Regions from separate parts of the Homo sapiens genome. Here regions 1, 3, 4, 5 and 6 are each linked to region 2. The links are contacts of gene promoters, found by promoter capture Hi-C in human tissues and cell types (Jung and others, 2019). All regions are on one chromosome and are shown on one strand. The core of a region is centred on a gene start or on the middle of the fragment in contact, and the rest is flanking DNA. Distances in the headings are between cores, read along the strand shown.

What was found. The method cuts DNA at HindIII sites, captures the fragments that hold promoters and counts their contacts. A contact is called where the count stands out against the background at its distance.
Region 1: a fragment that was not itself captured here is called in contact with the fragment with the promoter of DMC1 in region 2 in 2 of the 25 tissues and cell types used here (IMR-90 fibroblasts and dorsolateral prefrontal cortex).
Region 3: the fragment with the promoter of GGA1 here is called in contact with the fragment with the promoter of DMC1 in region 2 in 1 of the 25 tissues and cell types used here (lymphoblastoid cells).
Region 4: a contact is called between the fragment with the promoter of MICALL1 here and the fragment with the promoter of DMC1 in region 2, in 2 of the 25 tissues and cell types used here (dorsolateral prefrontal cortex and stomach).
Region 5: the fragment with the promoter of C22orf23 here is called in contact with the fragment with the promoter of DMC1 in region 2 in 2 of the 25 tissues and cell types used here (dorsolateral prefrontal cortex and lymphoblastoid cells).
Region 6: a contact is called between the fragment with the promoter of SOX10 here and the fragment with the promoter of DMC1 in region 2, in 7 of the 25 tissues and cell types used here (IMR-90 fibroblasts, dorsolateral prefrontal cortex, lymphoblastoid cells and 4 more).

Annotation. Positions count from the first base shown.
Region 1 is chr22:38,030,703-38,033,402 of GRCh38, forward strand. It overlaps POLR2F-AS1 (POLR2F antisense RNA 1), which reads right to left. Exons shown (of 2, transcript NR_199596.1): 2 at 1,470-2,453. It also overlaps a transcript of POLR2F not described here. Among named protein-coding and RNA genes, the nearest start is that of POLR2F-AS1, 2.2 kb to the right of the region's middle. RefSeq lists enhancers at 320-1,519, 2,531-2,700. The HindIII fragment of the contact is 4,209 bases long and covers 1-2,700 here.
Region 2 is chr22:38,568,812-38,571,511 of GRCh38, forward strand. DMC1 (DNA meiotic recombinase 1) reads right to left here and starts at 1,372. Exons shown (of 14, transcript NM_007068.4): 1 at 1,232-1,372. It overlaps LOC105373031 (a long non-coding RNA gene), which reads left to right and starts at 1,689. Exons shown (of 2, transcript NR_134627.1): 1 at 1,689-1,783; 2 at 1,942-2,547. RefSeq lists a silencer at 1,368-1,657 and enhancers at 1,961-2,471, 2,058-2,107. The HindIII fragment of the contact is 22,042 bases long and covers 1-2,700 here.
Region 3 is chr22:37,607,418-37,610,117 of GRCh38, forward strand. It overlaps GGA1 (golgi associated, gamma adaptin ear containing, ARF binding protein 1), which reads left to right and starts at 1,417. Exons shown (of 17, transcript NM_013365.5): 1 at 1,417-1,486. The coding sequence starts at 1,444. RefSeq lists a cis regulatory region at 1-52, enhancers at 797-876, 1,027-1,196, 1,801-2,422, 2,137-2,246 and a silencer at 1,357-1,806. The HindIII fragment of the contact is 29,756 bases long and covers 1-2,700 here.
Region 4 is chr22:37,904,880-37,907,579 of GRCh38, forward strand. MICALL1 (MICAL like 1) reads left to right here and starts at 1,418. Exons shown (of 16, transcript NM_033386.4): 1 at 1,418-1,689. The coding sequence starts at 1,544. RefSeq lists enhancers at 109-924, 925-1,740, 1,741-2,556, 2,557-2,700 and silencers at 1,031-1,750, 1,861-1,970. The HindIII fragment of the contact is 31,369 bases long and covers 1-2,700 here.
Region 5 is chr22:37,952,178-37,954,877 of GRCh38, forward strand. C22orf23 (chromosome 22 open reading frame 23) reads right to left here and starts at 1,424. Exons shown (of 7, transcript NM_032561.5): 1 at 1,271-1,424; 2 at 870-981. The coding sequence starts at 972. POLR2F (RNA polymerase II, I and III subunit F) reads left to right here and starts at 1,522. Exons shown (of 5, transcript NM_021974.5): 1 at 1,522-1,630. The coding sequence starts at 1,611. RefSeq lists a silencer at 1,688-1,757. The HindIII fragment of the contact is 12,825 bases long and covers 1-2,700 here.
Region 6 is chr22:37,983,107-37,985,806 of GRCh38, forward strand. It overlaps SOX10 (SRY-box transcription factor 10), which reads right to left and starts at 1,449. Exons shown (of 4, transcript NM_006941.4): 1 at 1,233-1,449; 2 at 251-762. The coding sequence starts at 678. It also overlaps a transcript of POLR2F not described here. RefSeq lists enhancers at 1-555, 2,510-2,700. The HindIII fragment of the contact is 28,697 bases long and covers 1-2,700 here.

The sequences.
Region 1 (2,700 bases), core at 38-2,537, 540 kb before region 2:
GCACATCCTCACTTCTCTGGGATGACTTGCTTTGCAGGGTCACTCCCGGGATAAGAAGAGGTCATGCAGTGGGGAGGTGTGGGTGGGGGCAGGGTTGTGCTGGGAAGGCCTGGGGAGCGTGGTCAGTGGTTCCCCGGGGATCAGGAACAGGCCCTCTCCCACCCCACCCCCAGCTCAGTTGCTGGACAAATCCATCAGATCAGTCGGCTGTCACCAGTAGGGGGTGGGAAAGGCAGGGTCTGTGAAATGAGGGGCCCTGGGACAGGACGAGGGCTGGAAGAGCTGTGAGAGGCCCTGGGCAAGAGGTAAGGAAGCAGGCTACAGACCACCAGCACTTCAGACCCTGCCAATGGAAAGACGGGTCTTGGCAAGTGTCGGTGTCGCCCCCTCCCTCCTTGTCCCTTGGGAAACTCCTACTACTCTGTCAGGCCTCAGCTCCAGCACACCTCTTCCAAGACGCAGGGGTTAAGAGCGAGAGTTTGGGTGTCATTCCATCTGCAGGGCCCTGGACAATCTGCTTCATCTTTTTCAAACTCATCTGTAAAATGCGGACAGTAATACCACAGAGCCTGCAGGATGGTTGCAAGGATTAAATGAGATGTTCTTGGCACGGAGGAGCCTACTTCTGACAACAAGGATGCCCTCGTTCCTTGGCTACTTCTCCTACCCACGTCCCCCCACAAGGTAGACTTGGCCCTCTGAGTCCTCACCACACCACCCTCTTAGCCCAGGTAGTAATTACAGTCATGTCTGTCTCCTCCATGGAACAGTGAGCCCCTAAGTGTGGGGACTGGGTCTGATTCACCACCAGGTCCCCAGAGCCCAGTGCAGGACCTGGGCAGGCACGGACTTCACACCCTGTGCCGCTGTCCAGGTCCCCACCAGCACCAACACCCTGTCCCAGGCGCCTGATGTCACAGGTGTCCCGGCTGAGTGGCAGCTCCTCACTCAGCTTCCACTTCCTCACGTGTGACCCTGGTGACCTCCGAAGGTTGCTTCCAGCCTGAAAGTGCTGTGAGTCCATGTCTCAAACCCGCGTCACCATGCTGCCCCCAGACCAACCCCTCCCCGCTTCCCTGCCCCATCAACGGCCCCACTGTTCTCCAGTGACCCAGGCATGAAGCTTCGGAGTCATTTTTGACTCATCCATCCCCTTCATCCCCTATGGCTAGTCATCGGCCATGACAATTTTTCCTTCCAAACACATCCGTAGTCCCCTCCCCAGCATTCTAGTCCCCTCTGTCTTGGCCTCTGTTTTGGTCTGAAGTCTGGAGATTTTGTCCAGTTTCTTTTTTTTCTTTTACTTTTTTTTTGAGACAGGGTCTTGCTCCGTGGCCCAGGTTGGAGTACAATGGCGCGATCTTGGCTCACTGCAGCCTCAACCTCCTGGGCTTAAGTGATCCTCCCACTTCAGCCTTCCAAATAGCTGGAAGCCTAGGCACAAGCCACCACACCCAGCTAATTTTTAATTTTTTTGTAGAGACAGGGTCTCACTCTGTTGCCCAGGCTGGTCTTGAACTCCTGATCTCAAGCAATTCTCTCACCTTGGCCTCCCAAAGTGCCAGGGTTACAGATGTGAACCACTGCACCACACCTGGCCTGCTTTTATCCATTTTCTAACTGGCCAGTGTCCTCTCACCTTCCACCACAGCCATCTTCCCAGGAGAGCTCTGGAGTTCCACTGTTACGGTCCTCCCAAAAATGCACAGCGGGTATCTGACAGGGGAAACTGCTTCACACCCATCACCTGCCCCTGAATCCATCAGTCAGGAGCCGAGCTGCTGCCTCGAGGCTGAGTGTGCCCAGGAGAGACCGGGGTCTCTGCCCACAGTCAGGCACATAGTCCACTGAGCTCTGCTATTCCTTAGGCCCAACACTGGGCATGGGGCAGGGAAACCAGGATGCTTGAGGCATAGGCCCTGTCCACACCCTGATTGGGGACATGGATGGATGATGCCACACTGACACAGTGTGCTGTAGGAACCAACGTGGGGTGGCGGACGCCCCTCATGCTGCCTGGAATCAGGACGTGTCACAGAGGACAGACAGTCGAGCTGGGTCTTGAGGAATGAGCAGGAGTTCTGCGGAGAGGGTGCTTCAGCAAGGAAGCTGCCTGGATGCGCAGTTATGAAGGCCTGCAGGGGCAGGAGGGGTGGCCACGGTGGGAGGTGGGGAGGCCAAGCTGAGAAGGGCTCCGTGGGCCACTGGTGAGCTGCCTCTGGAATCCCTTACTGCCGTCCATAATTCATGTCCCCCACACGGAGCATGACATAATTCATGTCCCCCACATGGAGCATGACATAATTCATGACCTCCCAACCTGTGACGCAACACCTCCTTGTAAACATCAAAGCAGCCATCTGTGAGCCATCTTTGAGCCCAGGAGGTTGAGGCTGCAGTGAGTTGTGATCATGATACCGCACTCCAGCCTGGGCCCCAGAGTGAGACCCTGTCTTAAAAAAAAAAGAAAGAAAAAAGAAAATTAAAAAAAAAAGGAAGTGGACAAAATCTTGAGATTTTGCACAGAGCTGTCCTCCCTAGTTGCCCTGTCTTTCTTCGCCAGCCTTTTCAGGTGGACGGGGCATGGCTTATCTCTCCCATTTTACAGATGAGGACTCTTGAGACCTACAGAGAGAAAGCGCTTGTCCAGGGCGGCCTGCTAGGCTCTGGTAGAGCCAGGGCTGGAATTTCCCTGGCCCC
Region 2 (2,700 bases), core at 122-2,621:
CCTGTAACATCCACCTTTTTGTTTCATAGAACATTAGCTATACTTTCTTTCACAGTATTTACTAGTTTCATGATTTTTTTAAGATTTAAAAATATGGTGGTCCGGGTGTGGAGGCTCATGCCTGTAATCCCAGCACTTTGGGAGGCCGAGACAGGCAGATCACGAGGTCAGGAGTTCGAGACCAGCCTGGCCAATCCCCGTCTCTACTAAAAATACAAAAAAATTAGCCGGGCGTGGTGGTGGGCGCCCGTAATCCCACCTACTTGGGAGGCTGAGGCAGGAGAATCGCTTGAACCTGGGAGGCGGAGGTTGCACTGAGCCGAGATCATGCCACTGCACTCCAGCCTGGGCGACAGTGCGAGACTCAGTCTCAAAAAAAAAAAAAAAAATTGGTGGATCATAATATTATATTAAGGCTGATAAGCAGTTAAAGTTTTTAACATTGTAGACTCAAAAAGAAATCTCAGGAATCCACAAGGCGTGATTGTGTTTATTTATTACAATAAAATGCGGTCCAAATCATCATTTTTCTTGGTCGATTCCATTTCCTCATTTGATACCAAAGTCAGGGGTTGGACCCTAGAACAAAGGGAACGAACCATTAATACTAAGGCAGGAGCAGGGTCCTACCACCCAGCACCTCAAACGGCAAAGGATGGAAGGCAACCGAGACCGTTCGGATGGGATCTTCGGGGACACTGTCCTTCAGATGGCTAGCTATGAGTACCCCAATTCCACATTTACTGTCCCCATCGAAGAGAAAAACAGCATTCATTTCTTCTCCCCGTGATGAAATGAAAAGATTGTCCCCCATCTCTCAAGGAGCCGTTGATAGACTGAACCGTTGGATTGAAAGTAGGGCTCCCCAATCCCCCGGTTTAAGACGACCCAGCTGTCCCCTCTGGTGGGGGCAGCAGCGCGGTCGGGTCGCCCTCGACGCCTCCCTCAGCAGGAGGCCTGGGCAGACCCCCTGCGGCCGCCGGACATTTTCCTGACACCGGATTCCCTGGTCAGGAGGATGAGGCGGGCTCTCCTAGACTCAGGTCCGATTCGATTGAAAATGAGGTTGGAAATCCCTCAAGATCACTAAAATTCCTCCCCAAAGGTCGGAGCGGAACGCTCAAAGTCACTAGCCCAGGGACCCCAAAAAAGGAGCGAGAAAGGGAAGCGCGCCTTCTCAAAACGAGCGTCCCCTCAGAGTCTTCGCACGCTGTTCGTTTTTGCCACTTACCCCCCTCGTACCCACAGTCTCCCCGAGATTTTCAAGGTGAAGCCCCTCTGCCCCGCCCGACCTCCTCAGCTGACAGGATTCTAACTCGGGCCTAGAACACGGAGCCTGGAGACCCGCGCGCCGTTGACCACAGGGTTTGGCGCCAAACGAGGAGGGCGGGGCGAGGACCAAGGGGCCGGGGCGGGGCGCAGGGTGAGGGTGGAAGGGCGGGGAGGGAGCAGGCCTACAGAGGGCGACGAGGGGCGGGGAGCAATGGGGGCGGGGCGAAGACCGAAGGGCGGGGAACGAGCGGGCTCACAGGTGGGGGGACCAGAGGGCGTGGCCTGGAGGGGGCTCAGGGCGAGGGGGCGGGGCGAGGGCTGAGGCGCGGAAAACGAAGAGGAGCCCCAGCGGGTGGCGAGCTGGGATGACGGAGGGAGGGAGGGAGGGGCGCTGTGGAAGGAGCGCGCTGAGGAGCGGGGCCTTGAAGGGAGACCGTTGAGCTGGGGCGTCCCTCGAGCTGAGCACCTCGCTAAAGTCCGGGAGAAGACCCTGAGGCGGGGTTCTGAGGAGGTAGCCTTGAGTCGGGGGAGGGGCGATGAGCAGAGGTGGCTGACTTTGGCGATAGGTCTTGGTCGCGAGGGTTGCAGATGGAGCCTTGGCTTAGAAGGTCGAATCCGGGCCCGTTTCCCCCCGCCCCCGCTGCCCATGGCTTCTCTTTTCACCTCCAGGTTTTCATGCTGGCTTCAGAGTTTGGCCGTGCTCCCTCAGCGTTCCTAATTTCCCACTTTCTGACTCTCACCATTTGCCACTCTTGTCTGTGATTGAGACACCCGAGGCCCATTCAGGATGGAGAGTAATTTTTTCTCTGTCTTAACTTGAAGTTTTAAATAGACCACAGACGCCAAGTATATTTTGGTTCAGCTTTTAAATAGAAGTCGCAGGCCAGCCTTCGTGCCAGCAGCGCCATCGCTGGCAGCATCCTCCTCCTCCCCTCACGCGGAGACTGACTTGGGGAGAGTCAGGAAACATTTGAGAGAGCAGCTGCCGAGGTGGAGGCTGTGATGTATCTTGGATGAATCTCTGTGCAAACAGTTCTTTGGGTTCAAGACCTAGTACAGGGCGATCCTTTTTGTTTTTTCTGTCTGAATCATTTTGGTGGAATAAATAGCAAAACATTCCCACAATAGCAGTTGGCATTTTGTGTAGGACGCACCCCCCCAACAGGTGGATTGTTTTAAGAGCCAACAAATAACTGCCATTGTGCTTCCAAATCTGTTATTTTCCCCCAAACACAGTCGTCCTTGTTATATGGAGATGAATGCCCATTTGGGGGAGGAACTGGATAGTGGTGAAAGGCTTTCGCTCTGAGGCCTCACCTAAATAATTATGGGAACTTTTGAGCAACTCGTTAGGTGAAGACATCAACAGTCTACAGAAGAGCTGCAAAGAGCACAGCAAGATGATTTAGGGAAATATAACATATGTAG
Region 3 (2,700 bases), core at 167-2,666, 960 kb before region 2:
CCTTCTAAAACAAAAGCCTGACTTTGCTACCATCCGTAAAACTGTAACGACACCTCCAACGTTGCTTACAGGGAAAAAAAAAAAAAAGGGCAGCAAAACATGGGACCTGGGTGATCTTGCCCCAGCCTAATTCCAAGATATCTCCTGCAAATAGATATCTATTTGCAGATATCTGGGAGCCGTATTGAAATACTTCCAACTCCCTGGACTCATCCTACTTTTTTTTTTTTTTTTTTTTTTGAGACTGAGTCTCGCTATGCCGCCCAGGCTGGAGTGCAGTGACGCAATCTCGGCTCACTGCAACCTTCACCTCCCGGGTTCAAGCGATTCTTCTGCCTCAGCCTTCTAAGTAGCTGGCACTAAAGGCGCGCCCAGATAATTTTTTTTTTTTTTTTTTTTTAGTAGAGACGGGGTTTCACCGTGTTAGGATGGTTTCGATCTCCTGACCTCGTGATCCGCCCTCCTCGGCCTTCATCCTACTTTTTCTCCCTGAATATCTTTTCGCACCAGCTCTACGTGGAGAAATCCGACTGTCTTTGAGCGAAGTACAGTATCACTTTCTCTTGAAACCTCCCCTGACACGACCCCTCCCCTGACACGACCCCTCCCCTGACAACACCCCCACCCACCCCACCCCAGTTTGGGGGAGGAGCCCCCTCCTTTGTTCCCACTACCCCGTGGGCTTCCCCTATCACACTGTAATAAATATCTGGCCTTGTCTATCTCCTTCTGTGCCCATCACAGAGCAAAGCAAATACAAAGAGTTCATTAAACGTTGGCTGGATGAATGGAGGAGACGGCACAGGGTTCAAGCTCTGCTACTTGTGCGGCCTCAGGCCGACTAATTATCTGGTGGGTTTGTTGTAAGGAGTCAGAACTAAATGGATTAATTACAAATAGTGCTTAGGACAATGCCCAGAATACTGTAAGCACTCAAGAAACTGATTTATTTTCGTCATTTTCACAGCGGCCAAGGTACATGAGGATGTAGCTTATCGCCCTTTTAAGGGACTCTCCCACGTTCGACTCTAAGCGGAAGTACCCGCTCAGGGCTCCGGAAGTGGCCTCAGAGCCCCTCAGCAACATGCCCGCAGAGAATTCTTCCGGAGGCGGTCACAGACATCTCCGTGACGCAGAACGAGTTAGAGCGTCCCTTGGGGTTTCCATGGTGCTGCCCTTAGCCTGCAGTATCTCCACTTCCTCTCCCGCCTGAGCGCCGGGAACGGAAAAGCAGGCGGCCGGTCCCAGCTGCGACGTAGACGCCGCGTGGGGGTGGGGTTGGGCGAGTAGGTGACGCTCTAGGCGAGCTCGTTGGCCTCTCTATGGTGCCGAGCGCGCCCGTTCGGACGTTGCCCCTTTAATCGGCAGAGGGCGGTGCCCAGGAGGTCCCGCGAGAGCTGCGGGGGGCGGGGGGGCGGTGCCGAGGCTGGGGGCCGGTGGCGGATGGAGCCCGCGATGGAGCCGGAGACTCTGGAGGCGCGAATCAGTGAGTGTCCGGGAGGGGCGCGGGCCGGACCGGAACCGGAACCGGGGGCACGAGGCGGGCCCCTTCCCGGCGGGGGCGGGGTACGGGTCGCCCCCTCCTCACGCCCCGCCCCCGGCCCGGGAGGGGCGGTGTCCTCAGTCGGCCCCTCAGACCCTGGAGCGATGGAGGACCCCGGCCCCGGCGCGGTCCAGCGGTGGGAGCGGGCGCCGCCCACCTGTCGGATCCCTGGGCCATGACCCCTGGGACGGCGAGTGAGCTGCGCCGGGAACCCCCGGGACGGAGAGAGCAGCCTCCAACCCCCAAGGCTCACATTGCTTCACGGAGTAGCGGCCCGGGGAAGGAGCACGCGAGCGGTTCCCCGGGGTTGCATCTCACACCCGGGAGGGAGGGACCCTACTATTTTCAGGCCCCGAATCCTCCACTCTCTGGCCCTGCATGGCGTTCCTGGAGCCCGCAAGTAGTCACATTTGCTCATTACCCCGTCCTGGAAGGGAGGACCCACTGCCCCATTTGATTCCTCCCGCCGCTCCTAGTCTCTAGCCACATAGTGAGAAACCCCCGCACCCTACAGGCTTGGGAGAGTCTTAGACTCCAGAAGTATTAATAATTCCAAGCTCCCTGTCACTCCCTTCAGCCTAACCCCTCAGTCTCCAAGATGCCTTTCCCAGCTCTTGCTGAACTTCCTTCAAAGGCTTCTACACCCCTTTTTTTCTTGTTTCTCCTCAGACGTAGCTTCCTATTGCTTAGGCTTCCTAGCCCGCAAACCCTCCACCTGAGCTCCTTAACCCACAGCCCTGATGATCCCCTGCTCTCACAGCCCCGCTCCTGGACTCTGCCTCTGAAAGCCGTGGCTGGCTTCTCCCTGGTCTAGTGAGGGTTCTCTCCCAAGGCTTTAACTGCTGTTGGGACCCCGTCGTTGCCAGGGCCTCAGGGAACCCTCTTGGACCCGGGCACACCGGCAACTGTCTAGCGTGGTTTGGGGTCATGGCCGGCCCCTTTTAAGCCAGGCTTGAGCAGAGTTGAACCATGAGGTTGGCCCCAGAACCAAACCTCTAGGGATGTTTCAGAGTCATCCTAGCCACCAGAGGGGCAGGGGGTGGAAAAGGGGCACTCAGCAGCCCTTGACCGTTGTGAACGCCGGAAGTGTCCGCCTGGGTCTCAGCAGCAACTGGGCTGGGGGGATGGGTGGGCCCCTGGCTAACTGATCTCAGACA
Region 4 (2,700 bases), core at 168-2,667, 660 kb before region 2:
TAATTTACCCAGAATGGCCCAGATGACAATCTGGGTACAAAATATTTCAGTCCATTTCATCATGTTTACCAAGTACCAGGAGTCAATAGAATTTATGAGTGATAACTAAAGGGTAAGGCACTTTACATCTTAATCCTCTCAGCCACCTTGTAAAGCAGGTATTATCTCCATTTTTAAGTCGTGGAAACTGAGGTCCAGGGAGGCACAAGATCACATGACTAAGGGAGTGGGGAAAGCCAGGATTGGAGATTGGGTTAATAGGGCTCCAAAATGCCTGATCTTTCCACTCCCCTGAGTGCTCAGGGGTGATGAAGATGACTAAGACCCTGTTCCTTCCCTTGGGAGGGAGCGAAATACCCACTCCAGCTAACTATTGCATGGGTCAGGGTGACATCACCACCTCTGCAGCAGATGGAGGCTGATTCATCTGTGGGAGAGTCAGGAGGGGCCTCTGCGGAAGGGTCGGCTGGCTGGAAGGGTTGGCTGGCTGGAAGGGTCGGTTGGCTGGCGGGGGTTTTGAAGACGGCAAAGATAGAGAATGAGCCTTGGGGAGGTTCCAGGGCCAGATACAAACTGCCTGTATGCCTCCCAGGCAGGGGCCTCCTTGGCCTAGGTCCTTCCCATAGGAACTCAAACCACCACCACACTAACCATGGCTGAGGGGACCCGGCAGGCCGCAGTGGGGAGGGACGAGATCCCTGAGCTTACACAGGGGCTGAGGGGAGCTCAGTGAATCACCTAGGGGACACCTGGACCAAAGGTGGCGGAGGGGCGCATGGGTCTCCCTGCCAAGCTATGGGGGAGGGGATGGTGGACATGACAACTTCCAGCTCAGCGGTGCTTTAGGGTGGGGAGCCGGGATGAGGGAAGCTGGTGGCTATCCGGGGGGGGGTGCTCTGAGGTCTGCAGGGGAACTGCCTCCCCAAAGTTTCAAGCTAGGGGTGGAAGGGGGGATTTGCGGTCATTAGGAGCGGGAAGGAGGCCGGATGGGAGCACGAGGTGTCCCGCCTCCAAAGGGTGGAGGGCTCCCGGTGGGTGGCGCGGCGGCGGCCGCGGCGGTGAAGTCATCGTGGGGAGTGGTCCGCTTGCGGCGGGTGCGGGGGCTTCGCGGGCACCCAGTGGAGCAGCGGGAGCCCGGCGCCGTCGAGGGGCGGGCGATGGGGCGCCGGCCCGTCTTGGTAGGGGTGGGCTCCGCACTGGAGGCGGAGCTGCTGCTGGGTGGGGCGCGCCTCCGGCGCGGACGGAGGCGGCGGGACGCCCGCTCCCACGACCGGCCCACAATGAGGCGAGCGGGCAGCGCGGAGTAGGCGGCGGCCGGCCGGGCCGGGCCACGCGGCGGCGCTGCTCGGGCAGGTTAGGGCAGGGCCGCGGGGCGCCCGAGCGAGGACACCGCGGCCCCGCCTCCGCCCCTCCCCTCGCCTGCCGGTCGGCGCCCGAGCTCGGAGCCGCAGCCGCAGCCGGAAACCGGGCCCGCGCGGCGGCCGCCGTCCCGGCCAAGCCGGGGCCCCGAAGCCAGAGCCGGAGCCGGGCGGGCCGCGGGGTCATGGCTGGGCCGCGGGGCGCGCTGCTGGCCTGGTGCCGCCGCCAGTGCGAGGGCTACCGCGGCGTGGAGATCCGCGACCTGAGCAGCTCCTTCCGGGACGGCCTGGCCTTCTGCGCCATCCTGCACCGGCACCGGCCCGACCTGCTGTGAGTGCGGGGCCCCGGGCGAGCGGGCGGCGCGGGGCGGGCTGGGGCCGCGACCGCCGCCCCCCCTCAGTAACACGAAGCCCGGGCGGTGACAGGCGCCGCCCCCGGACACGGAGACGCCGACCCCCCCGACGGCCCCGGACGCCGGGCGGGTCCCTGAGACCCCGGCCCAGGGCGCCCCTCCCCCGCCCGGCCGCCCTGACCCCGCCCGTGGGATCCCGAACTCTCCCCCGAGGCTGGTCCCTCCGCGGGGACACTGGCCCCGCCCACAAAGCGCTGATTTCCGCCGAGGATCGCTGAACCCCTAAGCCCTTGACCTCTTTGAAGGGGTGTTGAGCCCTCTTTGGGGGCCCTGGGCCTCTCCTACCCTAAACTCTTCTCCACGGGCTCGCCGGGCCTCCCCTCTCCCCCGAGGCTTCCCACTCGGGGTGGCCCCTTGCTCCGGGTGTGCAGGTGAACCCCCACTTCTCTGACCCCCAAATAGGAGCTTGTCTCCGGACAGTAGCACAGTTCCCGGCACAGAGGAGACCTCGGCTAACAGGTGTTGGATGAATGGATGTACAGACCCTGTGCTTTCCCCACGCCCCCCAACTTAGGACGCAGCCCTGCCTCCCGGGTGTGTGCTCGATGGCCCTGCAGCCCTCCTCAGTGGGGCACGCAGGTGGGGCGCGCAAGAGGAGTCACAGGCCGGCAATGTTGGGAAGACTCCTAGGATCCGATTGATAGACACCAACCGGGTGCTGCAGGTTGTGAAATGGCCCCTTCCTGCCCAGAGCTGCCCAATGAGGTTCTCATGGGAAAATGCATTCAGACTCCCCGGAACAGTTGACTTGGAGCCTCTGTCTTTGCTCTCTCTGCCTTGAGCCCTGGAACCTCTCCTCCTTTCGTCCCTTCATTCCTAAAACACTGGGTGAGTTTATCTGGTGCCATTCCTTGCACTTCAGGTCTCACCTGTGAATCAGGGAGGAGAGTTCTGGTCCCTACCCCTTTCGCATGCAGCCCTCTTGCCAG
Region 5 (2,700 bases), core at 174-2,673, 620 kb before region 2:
TTGTTGGAAAAAAACAAAAAAGTTGTTGAGTAAAAGAACACATGAATACTTGTTCATCATGTTTCAGGGGCTGGAGCTACAATTGTGGGCCGAAACAGGCACGGTTCCTGCCTGATGAAATTCATGATCTGGAGGGATAGATGGGACACCAAATAACTGACTACAGCTTGTGCTAAGCCCAGTGAAGGAAAATGTGTGAGGGCACATAACAGTTGATCCTACTGTGGTGGTGAGGAGCAGAAGTCTTCCTCGGGAAAGTTGAAAGTGTGATCTAAAGGATGCATAGGAGTTAACTACTCTAAAAATTTTAGTTCTTTGACTTTTGGCAAGGTGTAGCACCTTGAACCTTCCCCTCCCCCCCGCCCCGCCCCGCCCCCGAATAAGGCATATGCAGTAGAATTTTGAAGCTTTCTGAACCCCAGGCTCCTTATCTGTAAAGGAAAATAGTGCTAAGCCACAGGTCAGGTACGGGGGAACTGAGTTACAGAGGGTAACTACCACCATTCTTCTCTCATCCTTTAACTCAGGGGTCCCCAACCCTCCGTCCGTGGACTGGTACCAGTCCCTGGCCTGTTAGGAACCGGGCCGCACAGCAGGAGGTGAGCGGCAGGCTAGCGAGCCTCACCGCCTCCTTTCAGGTCAGTGACGGCCTTAGATTCTCATAGGAGCGCGAACCCTATTGTGAACTGCGCACGCGAGGGATCTAGGTTGCACGCTCCTTATGAGAATCTAACTAATACCTGATGATCTGAGGTGGAACAGTTTCATCCCGAAACCATTCCCCACACCTCCGTCAGTGGAAAAATTGTCTTCCACGAAACCGGTCCCTGGTGCCAAAAAGGCTGGGATCGCTGCTTTAACGGACTGACCTCTGAGCAGCTCGCAGGTCCCCGGGGTGTAAGTGATGGTCTTGGGGCGGCGCCGGAACCCAGTTCCTTTGGTCACTACCTCCATCTGCTTCTGTGAAGCCATGGGAGGACTCTGAGGAGGGAAAGACGCAATGACACACCCCCTGTCTCCTGTCCCTAATCTCTGTTCCCCGACGCCCAACACCCCCAGAAGTCTGGAAGCGGGGATCGAGCCAGAGAATGATGCCGCCAGTTAATATTGCGACAGTGCCCAAACCTCCCATCCAGACACACAGATACACACACACAGTCCTCATTCTGACCCAGCGCCTGTGGCAGGGAAGTCTCCTCGGGAGGGAGTGTTAACACAGCCATGGTCACAACAGTACCCACTGAGTGATATGCCAAAATTGAAATTTCACCCTAAGACCCTCTCTGGGTGCTCCCCTCTCCACATAGAAGTGGGCTCCCGGAGGCGGTGACCACTGCTTTACAGCCGCATCCGCACCGGTGCCACGCAGAAATACTGCGCGATCTGGGCTGCTGGAGCTGGCAGCTAGCGCCTCTCGCTACTATAGAAACGCGCACACACCAGTCAGCGCATGCGCACTTTCCCCGCTCTGTCCTGCCTCCCGGAAGTGATTTCCTCTGGGTTACGGCGCAGGCGCAAGATAAGCTAGGAGCCGCGCGAGTCGTAGTGTCGCTGTTTGCGGGTCTCCGCGCGGGACCGGGGCGCAGCGGGGTCGCTGAGGCGAGGGTGTCATGTCAGACAACGAGGACAAGTGAGTGCGGGAGCGGAGTGGCCTTTGCGGCAACCTTGGAAGGGGCGGATGAGGCAAGGCTTGGGTCGGCTGAGGAGCCTGGCGTCTAGGGGCAATGTCTGAGGGGACTGGGGTCCTGAGGGGGCCGGCGGAGCCGAGGAAGGGAAGGGCGGGCGACCCAGGAGCACAGCCCCGGCTGGAGGCACAGGAGGGCCCAGGCTCGAGGGTCCAGAGGGGATCCGTAGAAAAGGTGTCCTTCAGCAAATGTTCCAGCGAGCCGGGCTCTGTATCATGCAGTGGGAATATTGAGGTGAATGAACAATCGTCCCTGCCTCTCCACGTGCTCACTTTCTAGAAAAGGGGTCACAGGCCCATAAGTAAGCAAGCAAGCAGGTAACGGTGGTCGCGTGAGCTTCCCCAGTTCTAGACGTATGTAGTATAGGAGTACTCCAGAGGAGGGTCTGGGGCAGCTCCACCGGGTGGCATTAAATAAAAGTCTGGGACGGTCCTTTGCAGTAATTTTTTTTTTTTTTTGAAACAGAGTCTTGCTCTGTCGCCCAGGCTGGAGTGCAGTGGCGCGATCTCGGCTCACTGCAGCCTCCACCTCCGGGGTTCAAGGGATTCTCCTGCCTCAGCCTCCCGACTAGCTGGGATTATGGGCGTGCACCACCACGCCTTGCTAATTGCTTGTAGTTTTAGTAGAGACGGGTTTCACCATGTTGGCCAGACTGGCCTCGAACTCCTGAGCTTGTGATCCACCCGCCTCGGCCTCCCAAAGTGCTGGGATCACAGGCGTGAGCCACCGTGCCCGGCCTGCTTGTAGTAATCTAGATGAGAGAAGTCAGTAGCTTATAGTAGGGTGGTAGGAGTAGAGGTGGTGAGAACTGGTTTTGAATTCTGGATATATTACTATTTTAAAGATAGAGCCCAAAAATTACCTGTGGGATATGTGGGTGCAAAGAGAGCTAGTCTGAAGATAAAAATAAGAAACGTGTGGGATTGCTACCCCATTCCCAGTGAGTGTCAGTAGAGAAGAGGAGATGACCCGTGGCTGAGCATTAGGGCATTTGGACATTGAGTGCTTGGGGGAA
Region 6 (2,700 bases), core at 199-2,698, 590 kb before region 2:
TCCAACCACGAGGGGGCGCCTTCCTGCCCGCCGCCCCGTAGGGAGACCCGGCCTAGGCCGCTGGAGTTCCGAGTTCCAGGGTCCTTGTGATGGAAGGGCGGGCGCGGCCCCCACACCTGGTCTTCCAGCCCTATCCAAGGAGGACTGCCAGACAGTCCCGCTCTGAGGTGCAGGAGGCCGGGCCGCCTCGGCTACCCTGAATCCACCCGAAGCTAGAGGGCCCGAGCCCGGGGGGCGGTCGGGTGCTCACCTCCAGAGCTTGCCCAGCGTCTTGCTGAGCTCAGCGTTGTGCAGGTGCGGGTACTGGTCCGCGAGCTTCCTGCGCGCTGCCTGAGCCCACACCATGAAGGCGTTCATGGGCCGCTTGACGTGCGGCTTGCTTTTGCTGGCGCCGTTGACGCGCACGGGCATGGGCACCAGCGTCCAGTCGTAGCCGCTGAGCACCTGGCTGACGGCCTCGCGGATGCACACGGGGAACTTGTCATCGTCCGCCTCGCCGTCCTGCTGCTCCTTCTTGACCTTGCCCAGCTCGCCTGGCCCCGGGCTGGCTCGCAGGCCCGATCCGCCGCCGCCGCCGTCGGGCCCTAGCGAGGGCGCGCTCCCCGGGGACAGGCAGCGGGGCTCCTCCGAGCCCACGGGGCTCAGCTCCACCTCCGATAGGTCCTGCTCCTCCGCCATGTCGCCCCCGGCCGCCGCCGCCGCCGCCTCGGCCGCCTCCCCCGGGCCAGCCGCCGGGGTCCTCGCAAAGAGTCCAACGCCCACCTGGATGGAAGGAGGGCGCGATGGAGCGGCCGCGCGCGCAGCCCCGAGGGCGGCCCGAGACAGGACGTGGGCACAGCCCCGAGGTGGCGGCCCTTCCTGCTCCAGCTAAACCCATCTGGCCCCTGGGGCCCACGCACATGCCAGACTCTAGGTGGGTGCGTCCCGCCTCTGTGTCTTCCCACCACCTGGTCCCAACCGTCTCTTGGTGTGGGTGGCTTTTTTTTTAGCCTCCTTTTTTGGGTGGAGGTTTGTTGATGATAAGGAAGAAAAAAACGGAGCCTTTATTTTGCTCTAATCCCGGCCCCTGGAATTTCCCACCTTTTCTCTCACCTTTCCTTCTTCCCTCAGCCTGCCCCAACGGGGTTTAGAGGAGAGCCAGGTGGGGGGCAAGGGCGGGGTGTCGCCTCTCTCCACCTCACAGCAGGGTCCCAGGCCTGGGCGGGCCAGGGAGGAGCAGGCTGCGCACTCACCTCCTCGGACCTCTCCTCCAGTCTGGGGCTCGTCCTTAGGAAGTGGAAAACCGTGTCCCAAGGTGTGCGGTCCAGCTCGGGGCTGGGAGGTGACGCTGGTGGGCTGGGAGGGAGGGGCGGGGGGCCCTGAGCCTCAGGCCACGGCCTCGTTAGGACGGAGCCTGAATCCTTACCACCAACCACCCTGGCCGGACAGCCCGAGACTGACTGAGCGACTGAGCCTGAGCCGCTGCGGAGGGCTGGGGAAGGAAGGAGGGGGAGAGGGGGGAGGGGAGAGGAGGGAGGGAAGGGCAGAAGGTGGAGCCTCCAGGCTTTCCTTCATCCCCAACACTCAGGGCTCCTCCACCCGGAGCCCAGGCCCCCCCACCCAGCTCCCTGCCCTACTGCCCAGGCCCATCTTGCTGAGGCTTATCTTGGGCTTAGTCTGGGAGGTGGAGGGGAGGTTAGGCCGAGGAAGGAAGAGATGTAGGCTGGAGGGTCAGAACCTGTTGGATGGAAGAAAATTGGGCCCAACCAGGACTCCTAACGTCTGCCTCAGGTGGCAGGATGGGCACTTGGCAGGGGACTAGGGAGAGACGTGAAGGCGGTGAGGGTCCTGGGGGCCCGTGAGGGTGGCTGGCCCTAGCTGCTTCGTCTGCGAAATCCTGTTGAGTGCCTAGTGTGTGCCAGGCACTGATGCCCAGCTCCTCACCCTGCCTCCTACCTTTTCCCAGGCAGCCCTTTCTGCCCCATCCTGCACAGTAAGAGAGACTTCTCAGGGATCCCTCTGAGAAGTGCAGAGCCCCAGCTTGACCCCTGGTCCCTTCTCTGCAGACACCCAGCACACGCGCGTTCTGGTCTGGTTCAAGGTGGAAACACAAGACTAAAGCTGCCAGGAGGCCAAGGTGGGACAGGTTGGGGGCCCTCTCTCAGTAGGTCTTAGAGGCATTTTGGGTTGCTACCTACTGGGACCCAGCTCCTTCCACACTGGGCTCACCCTGTCTTGGGAGAGGGTAGGGGAGTCCTAGTCCTGATTGTCACGAAGTCCTCTACTCCCCCACCCCAACAAGGGGTGGGGACTTGCCCTGCCTCTTCCCTCCTCTGCCCACCTCTCCCTCCCTCCCCTTTTCTTTCCTGCCCATCCTCCGTTGACACCTTTTTCTCTCTCTTTCCTTGGCCTCTCCTCCAAAGGTCGCAGTGCTGTTCTCTTAACTGAGGGCAGCCCCGCCGGGGTGTTGAGGCCGAGGTGGGGTGTATGTGGGTTATGTAATGGAGCTGGGGTCGCATTGGCAACCATGTGACGTTCTGAGCTCCTCAACAGCAGGGCAAAGCCCCAAGACCACCCCAAGGGGTCCTGTCTGGAGTGGGCTGCAAAGGGTCTGGGGAGGCAAGGCCTCATGCTTGGGAAAGTCCAAAGGGGTGTAGGGGGTGGGAAATGGGACACAATGAGGTAGTCACACGAGGCAGAGGCATGTTGGGGGTGGGGGGA